Linked DNA regions of Homo sapiens: region 2 is linked to region 1. The links are contacts of gene promoters, found by promoter capture Hi-C in human tissues and cell types (Jung and others, 2019). All regions are on one chromosome and are shown on one strand. The core of a region is centred on a gene start or on the middle of the fragment in contact, and the rest is flanking DNA. Distances in the headings are between cores, read along the strand shown. Region 1 holds the start of SKIDA1 (SKI/DACH domain containing 1). Region 2 has its middle 94 kb from the start of NEBL-AS1.

What was found. Contacts are between HindIII fragments. The study calls those that stand out against the background at their distance.
Region 2: a fragment that was not itself captured here is called in contact with the fragment with the promoter of SKIDA1 in region 1 in 1 of the 25 tissues and cell types used here (dorsolateral prefrontal cortex).

The regions. Positions count from the first base shown.
Region 1 is chr10:21,523,223-21,528,635 of GRCh38, reverse strand. SKIDA1 (SKI/DACH domain containing 1) reads left to right here and starts at 2,954. Exons shown (of 4, transcript NM_207371.4): 1 at 2,954-3,089; 2 at 4,765-4,953. RefSeq lists silencers at 1,017-1,175, 1,035-1,354, 1,365-1,484, 1,930-2,079, 2,200-2,619 and enhancers at 2,275-2,918, 2,919-3,562. The HindIII fragment of the contact is 2,515 bases long and covers 1,620-4,134 here.
Region 2 is chr10:21,076,872-21,082,284 of GRCh38, reverse strand. It overlaps a transcript of NEBL not described here. Among named protein-coding and RNA genes, the nearest start is that of NEBL-AS1, 94 kb to the left of the region's middle. The HindIII fragment of the contact is 3,820 bases long and covers 757-4,576 here.

The DNA of each region.
Region 1 (5,413 bases), core at 1,705-4,204:
TTTTTTTTCTGTTCAAACCTTTCCATAGTTACGCCTCAAATGATATCTTACATAAGAATTTCTCCCTATATCTCGAAATAACTGAATGATTTCCATGAGGAAATGCAAGTTTAGAAAGAAGACCCGCAAAATGAAAGTGTTAAAATGCAAGCAACTTCTACAGCATTTCAAATGCAAAAATACAACAATCACTACCTTTAACTGACTCTTAAGGGGTCTTTTCAAACAGATGCTATTTATGAGCATCATCTGTTAACTCCTTTCTTGTAATTCAAAACTCTGTCAAATGATGTTTTCATGATGACGTGTAAATATAATATTCCATTAAAGATCAATTCTAATTGGTTTTTTAAAATCTACCTTGGGAAACAGTGCTTCATAACACACAGACTACTAATGAGTATTTTAGAAGGAATTTCCGCAAAGTCTATCATAAACCTAAGTCGAAATTACTCTCTTGCCCTAGTAAGGTTTGGACCACAGGATTGAAATTATTTTTTCTTGGCCTTTCACGCACGATGACTTTGGTCTTGTCGACAAGACTCGCAAGCACTTGTTGGAAATCTTCATTTAAAAAAAAACAACTGTGACGTTGGCCAGAAATATTTCTTCCATATGCCTCACAAAGGAAAACAGACAGAGTTTATTAAGTGGATTGCAATTATTTGTTTCCAAAACGTGGCTTAAAAGCAAATTAAACGTTTTTCCCTTTTGAAATTCCCTATTTTGAAAACGCACTTCACGTTAAAGGAAGCCCGTTTTTGAAAGGGCTAGCTCAGCCTTTCCTTTTAAAACTAGACTTTCTGTGTACAAAGAAGAGCTGAGTAATCAGTAATAAGGATAGCGAAACGTGCTTTTCCGAATTCCTTTGAACCTTTTTTTAAATGGATTTTTGAATCCATACTTTTCAAGATATTTCAAATATTATATAATCTACTGTAACTTTCCGGATCCAGAATAATAACTGCCCACGGGTGTCTCTTATCTATTTATCACTTTATAAACATATCTATGTTGCTTTCCCTTTTTCTCATAACGTGTGCGTTGCAGGCTCGCCCGGCTTCCTTCAATTTCGCAGCACGCTGTAAAGGCTCCTTCCTCCGAGGTCTTCAGCTGGGAACCCCTCGCTGGCTGAGTCTGACCATCAAAACTTGCCGCGCCGGCCCGACCCGACCCGGCCGGAGCTCAGGAGCCCGGGGAGGCGCCGACGGGGGTCGGGTTGGCCCGCGGGGCCCCTCCCTCGGTCAGGACGTGCTCGGCTAACAGCGGTGCTAGGGCAGAACAATGGGGGCGGCCCGGCGGGCGCGAGGAGCCAGGTCCCGCTTCCTCCGGCGCGCCGGCCCCGCGCCCGGCCCCCGCCCCCCGAGGCCTTCCCCGCCTGCCTCTTCGCGCTCGCCAGTCCCGCCGCGCCTTCCTCCAGCTGCCCGGCCCGGCGCACGCCCCGCCGCCCGCACGCCTTCTTCCCCGCCCGGACCTAGCGGGCCCTCCTTCCCCCGATTCCAACCCACTGCGCTTCCTCCCAAGACTCCAGCTTCTTCCCCTCAGCCGCCGCCTTCGCGCCCTTTTCTGAATGTATTTTTACAATTTCCCCCTTCATTTCCAAAAGTGGCTGAGAAGTCTCGCTTCCATCTTAATGTTGATTTGCTATTTCCCTCCGGAAAAGATTTCCTCAGGAAACCCCAAATCTAGAAGGAAATACAGCAAACCCTAGAACGCTTTTAACCCTTAAGACATCTTGTATTAAAAGAAAAAAAAAGCATGTATGTCTTAAAACCGGCCAAAGAACCATCTCCTCGCTCTTTATTTCCTCCTGTAAATGCTATTATTTTAAACTCTCCATTTTAAACTCGTCCTTCGGACGAGAGGGCAGAGAATGTGCCCGGCAGCACGCAGCAAATCAGAGGTTTTATCTTACGCCTCCTGGGACTGGGAAAAAAAGTGGAACGTGGCCGAGGGAGCTTCCAGGGCAGAAAAGCGACACAATTCGCTGGGGACGCCGCTGGGCCAGGCCAGGCGGGGGAGGCGCGGCGGGGGCGTCGAGGGCTCTCGGGCTCCGGGCCGGGGCGCCGCTGCGAGGAGGGGAGGCGGTTTTAAGTCATGGGGGCTGGGAGGGCGGCGGCGGGTCGGGCGTGACGAGACTTTCGGAGGCAGGATGGGGCGGCGGTGGAGTTGCCTGGGCTTTCTCAGCACCCCCCCCAACACACCCAAATAAAAAAAGGAAAGTTAGAAGGAGGCGGAGAGGAGGACAGCCATCCCCATTTCCTCCCCGCGACGCCGCGGAAGGGCTGGGGCCGCTGCGAGCAGAGAGAGGGCGCGGGATGAGGCGGGCCAATCGCAGTCAACAGGTCCAGGCCTCAGTGGGGCAGCTGAGCCGGGAGGCCGGCGCCCCCTCCCCTCGGCTCCCCGTCCCTCCCCTCCCTCGCAGGCCCGGCGCGGTAGGGGAGGCCCGGCCCGGCCCTCCCCGCCCCGCGCGGACTCGCTGCGGCCGACTCCGCCGGGGCAGTCGGGGTGGGGGTGGGGCGGGGGTTCCCCGCCGGAGAATCCTCCCCCGGGGCTGGCGGCGGGGGCGGGGAGCGAGAGCCGGGAATGGAGGATTAGGAAGGACTCCAGCTCGGCACGAGCGCGGCCCGCGCGAGGGATCCTGGGTAAAAAGTGGCCGCGCGGCACCGGAGAGCGCGGAGAGGAGCCGGGGTCAGGGGTCACGGCCCTGGAGCCCCGCGTGCAGAGCCCCCCACGTGAACGCAGCGAGCAGGAGGAACCTTTTTGTTTTCGACCGCGCCAGCATGCTCCCCTATTGACCGAGCTGCTTTTCCTGGGCTGCTGGGGAGAGGAGCTCCATTGCGGAGCTCTTAACCCCACCCCCACCTTCCACCGCCAACACACTTCCCAACTCAACCCTTCCTCTCAACTCTCATCCCAGCCCCCCGTCCTGAGCTTGCAATAACGCAGTAAATTTGCTTTAACAACAAGTGGGGGTGGTTGAATTTACTCCTCCCTCTCCTCTCTCCTCCCCTTCCTCTTGCTGCGGTTCTTGACACTACTACAAACCAGGACTATAAACATAAACATGTGTCACTGTAACAGGGCAGGTAATATACGGATTTTGAGGCGGGGTGGGGTGGAGCGGGGCTTGGTCGCCGCTTGGAGGGCAGTAAAAAGTCGCGTTTCACGTGCTCGACGGCTTTGGGGACTCCCGCACACATCGATCCGTTTATATAATGCCGAAGGCACTTGGTCACTTATTCAGCCACGCAGACCCACAAAGCCAGACTTGCGGATAACCAGCGTACCCCAAAGCAAATGCATTTCAATACGAATCCCTCTCCTTTCCCAGCCAGTGCTGCCATTTCTTCTATTAGCAAACAGTAACGTGATACTTGAATCCCCTTTCCTTTTTAAAAATTCTTTTCCAGATAGCCATGAGATCATTTTTCGACCTAAATAGTACATCTCTCCCATAGCCACTACCTACACATTTTGTGCGCAGAAACCCCTTCAAACAGCAAGAAAGTCTATTTAAATGACTGAGTTCGAAATCTGGTGTGCAAAGGGTATTTCTTGGGCTTTGCCTCCGTGCATTGAGCAACTTCTGCTGCAAGTTGCTGACACTGGCGCGGTGGAGATCCGCCACAGCAAGCCTTTTTTATTATTATTTAGTCTATATCTGCCTCTCAACTTTTTTCTCATTCTTAGTTCAACAAGCCAGCAACCACTACTTAAGGTAGAGTAAAGCGAATCCCTTCCCAAGCTTTTTGGCTTGAAACGGAGGGAGATACAGAAAATGTTCAGATGGGGAAGTGGTTCCCTTTGTTCTTTCATTGTTTCTCTACGAACTGGTGGATACAAGGACAAACACTTACCTTCTCTTCTTTTTGCTCCACAAACCAGACGTTCCCATCAGCCTTAAAATACACAATCCACCTTGAAAGTAACTACGGATGTCGGGAGAGTTTGTATTCCATTCTTTTTCGCTCTCTGCCCTCTTTTAGCGTAGGATTAAGTTGCAGAGCACGTTGCTGCAAGCTGTAGCCCCCCCCCCCCCCCGCCTTAGTGAATCGGTCACGTTTAGGACCCTCTAAGTCCATCCTAATTCTGCCAGTAGAATTGAGGGTATTGGAGCTCTAAACTTTCAAAAGGAAAGGGGCCTGCAACTCTCCAGAAAACTTACAAATACCCCGAAATTTTTTACCATTGTGTTTTTGCACCACATCACCAAATAGTATTTGCCAAGAAATAATAGATATGTCTTTGAGAAAAAAAAATTTTTTTAAGTTTATACTTAGCAATGCGCTGCTTAGACAGATGTAGTAAAAGGCAGGTTTGTATCGGCATTTAACGGAATGAGTGCGTTTTCCATAACGTTTGTTGTGCCATGTGTTTTTTTAAAACACAAACAAAACACTACCCCAACTGAGAAAGGAAATAGAAGTTTGAATTAAAATGTTGTGGAACAACTTTAAAAGAGACGTTTACTTGAAATTTATTAGTGTAAAAATTGGCCTCAGAAGTGAAAAGTAAGCTTTTCAAAGTTAAAAGACTTAATTTTCACCCTATGATTCCATAACAAAAAAGCGAATTTTCTGGTTAATATGTGATACTGTCAGTGTTGAGTGTCCAGTCTTTTGGGTCTTAGTGTCCAAACCTTGCTCAAATCTGATTATGATGTGATTTGCTGATGTCATGAATATGAAATGATACTTGTGTATCCATAAATTCGAACTTGTGATTTTTTTTTTTTTTTTTTTATCTCCCGCTTTTTTGTAGGTTCCCAGTAGCTGCAGCAGTGAAAGACAGTGATTGGCTCCAGTGCTCCCAGAAGGATTTGGGCTGAAGCCAGGGGAACAGAACCAGAAGAGGATTCCCTTTCCAGAGACCATCAGGCTCCTCATGTCTTGTCTCTCCTCTCTCCCCTCGTGGTGGCTCAGGATTTCAGTATGGCTGAGCAGCCCATAGGTAGGCCTCAACACTTGGTGTCACCACTTCAGTCTCTATATGTTTGGCCCTTGTGTAAAATAAACAAAAACTTGGGCAACCCTAACAAATTGTGGTTCTGGATATTTGTGTATTATTTAATATCTGAAGGTCAAACTCTACTTTCTCTGATTTTTTTTCTTTTGCATTCAGGATCAATTGTGAAAGGCCCATGTGTCTCATAGGAAAATATTACAACAAAACAAGATAATTGGGGGGAAAGGCGGTTGCAGTAGGAAAAGTGGCTTTTCTTTGATAGCATTTAATTGGAATTAAAAGATTCTTGAGCTGTAAACATTCTTTATTTATTCAGCACACATAAGCAGGCATTGTTTTATCACCATCATAATTATGGTGTCCTTTAAACTGGCTGATAGCAGGAAAGATAAGGGAATGTGCCCACAGATTCAGATCAAGTCTCACTCCTTTCTTTTCCTCCCTG
Region 2 (5,413 bases), core at 1,417-3,916, 450 kb after region 1:
CCAAATAAATATTCTTTATTGCAAAAGGATCCAATCTAGAATGATGCCTTGTACTCAATCATCATGTTCCTTCAGTTTCCACTAACCTGCAAGAGTTCCTTCGTTGCTTGGTGACTTTCACGACTCTTTTGAAGCCCAGTTAAGTTCCTCAGTTTCGGTTTGGGTGATGTTTCTTCATGGTTATATTCAGGTTAGGCATGGTTGGCAGGGATTTCATGAAAGGGGTGCTATGTTCTTTTCATGGTATCCTATCAGGTGGCACCAAACCTGGTGATGTTCACTTTCATCATTTGATGAAGGTAATTGACATGATGTATCCTGGACCTCATCAAACTTTTAATTTGCTCATGTATTTTTATTTTTATTGGTATAGACTTCAATTTCATATTTTATTCAATGGGTTATAATCCATCACTATCATGATTTATTTCTATCCTTAAGTTGTTCCACACCTGGCCCATGGGAGCCCTTATGAGCAAGTTTCCAGGTCCTTATGACACAATTCCATCATTCTTTGGGTACATCCTTACTTTCTGGCACAGTAGAGATGTTCCAGACTTATCTTATATTTTTCCTCCCCCATCCCTGGAATCAATCACTTCTCCGAGGATGCTTGATTCCTTTTAGTGAAGAACAGTCTTTGGAAACCAACCGTCTAGGGACATTAAGTATGCTTGTTGCTATTGGAGTGTCATTGCTCCTGGACCTTCTCAGTGGACACAGCTAGGAAATGTATGTGTTTATATGTGTGTGTTAAATATCAATTTCTTTATCTATTATAGGTACTATTAAAAATGAGTTCCCACCAATATCTCCACCTTCAGTTTTCCCACTAGGAGCCATGATGAGAAACCTGGCTCCTGGTTTTTTCTATGTGTTTACTTATTTGATCAACCCTCCTGTGCATAACAAGCCTCACATCCCCATGGCTGACTGCCTTTCCCCTGCTTCCCATGAAAGCCTTTGTCATCCTGTGCCAGCTGCTGGAGCTCCCCACAACTCAAATGGTGGCCCCATTGATTTTAGGCCAGCTTAGAAAAACACAGTGGAAAATTTTTGCATCATTTGATTATCAAGTCATGATTGCAGTTTGTTGGGGTTGGAATGTGACTATTAAATAATACCAGATCAGCCAGGTGTGGTGGCTCATGCCTGTATTCCCAGCACTTTGGGAGGTCGAGGTGGGTGGATCACTTGAGGTCAGGAGTTCGAGACCAGCCTGGCCAACATGGTGAAATACTGTTTGTACTAAAAATACAAAAATTAGCTAGGCGTGGTGGTGCATGCCTGTAGACCCAGCTACTTGGGAGGCTGAGGCAGGAGAATGGCTTGAACCCAGGAGGCAGAGGTTAACAGTGAGCTGAGATTGTGCCATCACACTCCAGCCTGGGCGAGAGTGATACTCCATCTCAAAAAACAAAAAACAAACAAACAAAAAAACCAGATCACATTTTAAAAATGACACCTACCAGAATATCAATATCTGAATAAGCCAGAATTAGCACTGTTGGGAGGGTATATAATCATTCCATCAAAGTTGCATTTACTCAAACAGGTTGGACACCTCCTTCTAGATCTGTTTTTAGAACCACTTTCCAAGCCCAATCCAGAAACCCAGCCTTGCTTCTTTTCCATTGTAGTCCTAGTTAAAAGCAACCAGAGCTGCATAAATCTCTGTGGGAAAATTATTTTTATTACAATGATTTATGTATATGCTTATCTTCCCCTCTAGTCTGTGAGACCCTAAGATCCAAGGCTAACTTCATATTGTACAGCATCCAACAGAATAGTTGTTGAATTATTCAATGAATGAATCTTGTCTTTGATTCAATTTTCTCCAGCTTATATGCCAGAGTTAGTCCCAAATGACTCAGCTGTTCCCAAAAATGAAATTCGCCCTCAAAGTATGAATATTTACCACAATTGAGAAGAGTCAAAAATATATGTCTCATGCACGGAATGCAATATCAAAAGAGGAATTTTCACAGAGTTTTGAGCAGTCTCAAGATCACAGAATATGGATATCATATCCAAAGTATCTATTTAGAAAGTGATGACATGCTTTTGTTGTATCTATGTGTTGTGCTGTTAAGAAATCGCTTTCATTACTTTATGGTCAGCCATATTTTATATGCATTATAAATTATGTGCTTATTACAAAATCACAGCCACCAGAACCGTCTCTCTATGCTTTACAGTTCACCTGTGAAGATTTATGTTCTGAGTTAGCTGAGACATCATAGAATTCTCTTCTTACCAGGAAAGGATCATAATACATGCTGTTCAAAGCAATAGCGTAAGACTTATTGATATACAGTATCTATACTCCGCCCCTCTCTGAGGATTCTATATTGGTCATTGTTCAAGGCTTCTAGTGATTTTCTTTTATTATATGAAAAAGGAGAGTTCAATGTAGGACAGAGGTGGAGCTACCTTGGGTGGTGGGGCAGAGTACAAAGAACAAATAATGATCTTATATGTCTGTGCACGTCCTTCCTCCAAATGTTTCTATAACTGCGATCTTTTGAAAATTAACAGCCTTGGCCATCTCAAAGGAGGAAAAATAAATAAAGGAATATGCAGCTCAATCTGTGTGTTTACGGGGCAGATAGGTGAAGATGAGAACCATAGATCTTATTGAGAGGGAAGCTGCCCACTTTTGTCCTTCTATTTGGGTGAGAAGTTGTTGAGCCTCCCTATGTTTATACTGGGAGCCCTATTTTTATAAAGCCCTCTGAAGGCTGTGTGGTGTTGCCAACTTGGAGAAAAGGTTGAAGCTCCAGTCCTGGATCCACAAATTCTGTGTGCCCACTCTTGAGCAAGTTACTTAAGCCCTGTGAGCCTGAGTTTTCTCACTTCCAAAACAAGGTCCTCACACAGGTGTGCTGGGAGGTTTAGATGAAAGCACCTGCCAAATAAATCACAGAAATGAGAGCCTACCAAAGATTTGTGCTCCCTGCATTTTATCTTGTATTTTTTTAAAATCTCAAGATGGTGGTACTACTGCCTCTTCACCTCCTCATTTTCTTTCTTTTTCTGGTCTTGCCCTGTTATCCCCTCCACCAGGATGCACCCAGGACACTTTCCCAGATTTGCCATGTCCCATGGGAGGCTCTGGCTATAGTTAATAGAGAAGGTTTCCGAGAGAGAGAGGCTGAGACAGACACCTGGAAGGAAAGGTTGGATATCTCCTTTGGAGGAAAAGCTAGGGAAAGTCCTAAGAGGAGGGCATTTGCTGTGCCATTTGTCATTTAGATCTGGAGGTGGTAGAAATACAGACATTCTGATGTTTCTATAAAGGCTGTCAGGGCTTAATGAAGTTCTTCATGGGGCAGGAGCCGCACGTGCTTATTAAGGTTGGATCAGTGGATACACTCATCCCCTGGATCTGGGAGCAAACTGGAATCAACAGTGCCACCAAGTGGCAGCCAGCTAATAAGCAAGTTGAAACACTAAGACTGCAACTTCTAGTGCTTTGCCCAAATATCTCTGTCTCTTACTCTTTTTCTTTCTAAAAATAAGATCAAGTATATTTTCCTAGGGTGGATATAGAGAGAATGATCTTGTAGACATACCTTCTTCTGGCATGTTGTAGAGCTTGGATACATGATTTTTCTTTATTAAACAATCAAAACCTTTAAAGTCCCACTCAAATGAGCAGGTCATAGGAGTAGATACCTCTGCATACGTGTATACAGGTCATTTATAAAAACTGAGGGATGGGGGCTGTGTGTGTTGGGATTCAAGAAGATTTCCAAAGTGTATTAACCAGGAGTGAAACTCAGGATGACAAATACTGTACACGATGGCAAACAGCATAGACAACATACACGACTCTATTTAGGAGAGGAAACCATTTATATTATTACAGTCTGTAACCTTTTTGTTTTTTATTTAGAGTATTTCTTTTTCTGATCATAAAAGTGTTCGTTGTAATAATTTGAAAGGCTTATTACTTTAAAAAGAATACATTCTACTGGCTGTTAAACACCTTGTAAATAACACAAAATACCAAGATTTTTAGGATACAGAAAAATCCATTTCATTCTGGTCCATTTGTTTGTCATTAGAAAGAGTCTATTTTGTACTCATGCTGCTGTGTTCATTTTAGGACTAATTTGAGGTAAGCTTCCAGCTTTGATTGTTGCTTTCCCCATTATTTTTATTTTCGATCCCCCATAGAATGCATTTCCATCTTCCAATCTCCTCCTCCCGTCCATTCTGCACACAACCCAGCTTTCAGAATAATCTGGTATTGAGAGTCAATCCGTGCTCTGGAAGGTGTCTCAGTGTCCCTGTGACAGCCAGCTCTGCAGTATCCATCGGACTTGATATGGTGGCTCTTGTAGTGTTGCTTTTCTAAGAGCTAAAGTACTTTCTCGTGGTCATGAATAGTGTGGGAAGCCCATAGCTCGGGCTGTTGAAAGGTCTATCAGTTCTGCTGTGCCTGACAATGTTGACCCCAGGGTAGAGAGATTTCCTCCCACTTCCTAGGTGTGTGGGAGGTAGGGGCAAGTGCTAGGGGATTTATGAATGAGATGGAAGGGAGGACAGAAAATGAAGAAGGGAAAAAGATATCAGGAACCAACAGACCATCAGCTGAATTCTAACTACAAAAATGACAAATAACAAAAGCAATTTATTTATTTATTTATTTATTTTTATTTTTATTTTTTTTGAGATGAAGTCTTGCTCTGTCGCCCAGGCTGGAGTGCAGTGGTGCCATCTCGGCTCACTGCAAGCTCCACCTCCCAGGTTCACGCCATTCTCCTGCCTCAGCCTCCCGAGTAGCTGGGACTACAGGCACCTGCCACCATGCCTGGCTAATTTTTTGTACTTTTAGTAGAGATGGGGTTTCACCATGTTGTTAGCCAGGATGGTCTCTATCTCCTGACCTTGTGACCCACCCGCTTCAGCCTTCCAAAGTGCTGGGATTACAGGCGTGAGCCACTGCGCCCGGCCAGCAAAAGCAATTTAAAATGTACCTTGCTCCATAATAAATATAAGGGAGTGAGGAACAAAGCTTTTCTTCCCCCAATTCCTTTGATTTTTTATTTTTTTTGAAGAAAAGTAGATTAAGCATGAGTTTTAAGTACTGTTCAGAATAAAAACCAAGATAGACCCCAATAACTTACCTTAATTTTGAGTATAATATTATATTGTAGGTCATTTCTGGACTTGGGTGGCTATTTTTAAACATATTTTTAAATTGTGGTAAGATATACGTAACATAAAGGTTACCATTTTAACAATTTTTAAGTGGACAGTTCAGTGGCAGTATGTATATTCACATTTTTGTGCAAATGTATGTTTCTAGAACTTTTTCGTCTTCCCCAACTGAAACTCCACATCCATGAAACACTAACCCCCCATTTCCCCCTCCGTCATCTTACTTTCTGTCTCTGGCCATTTG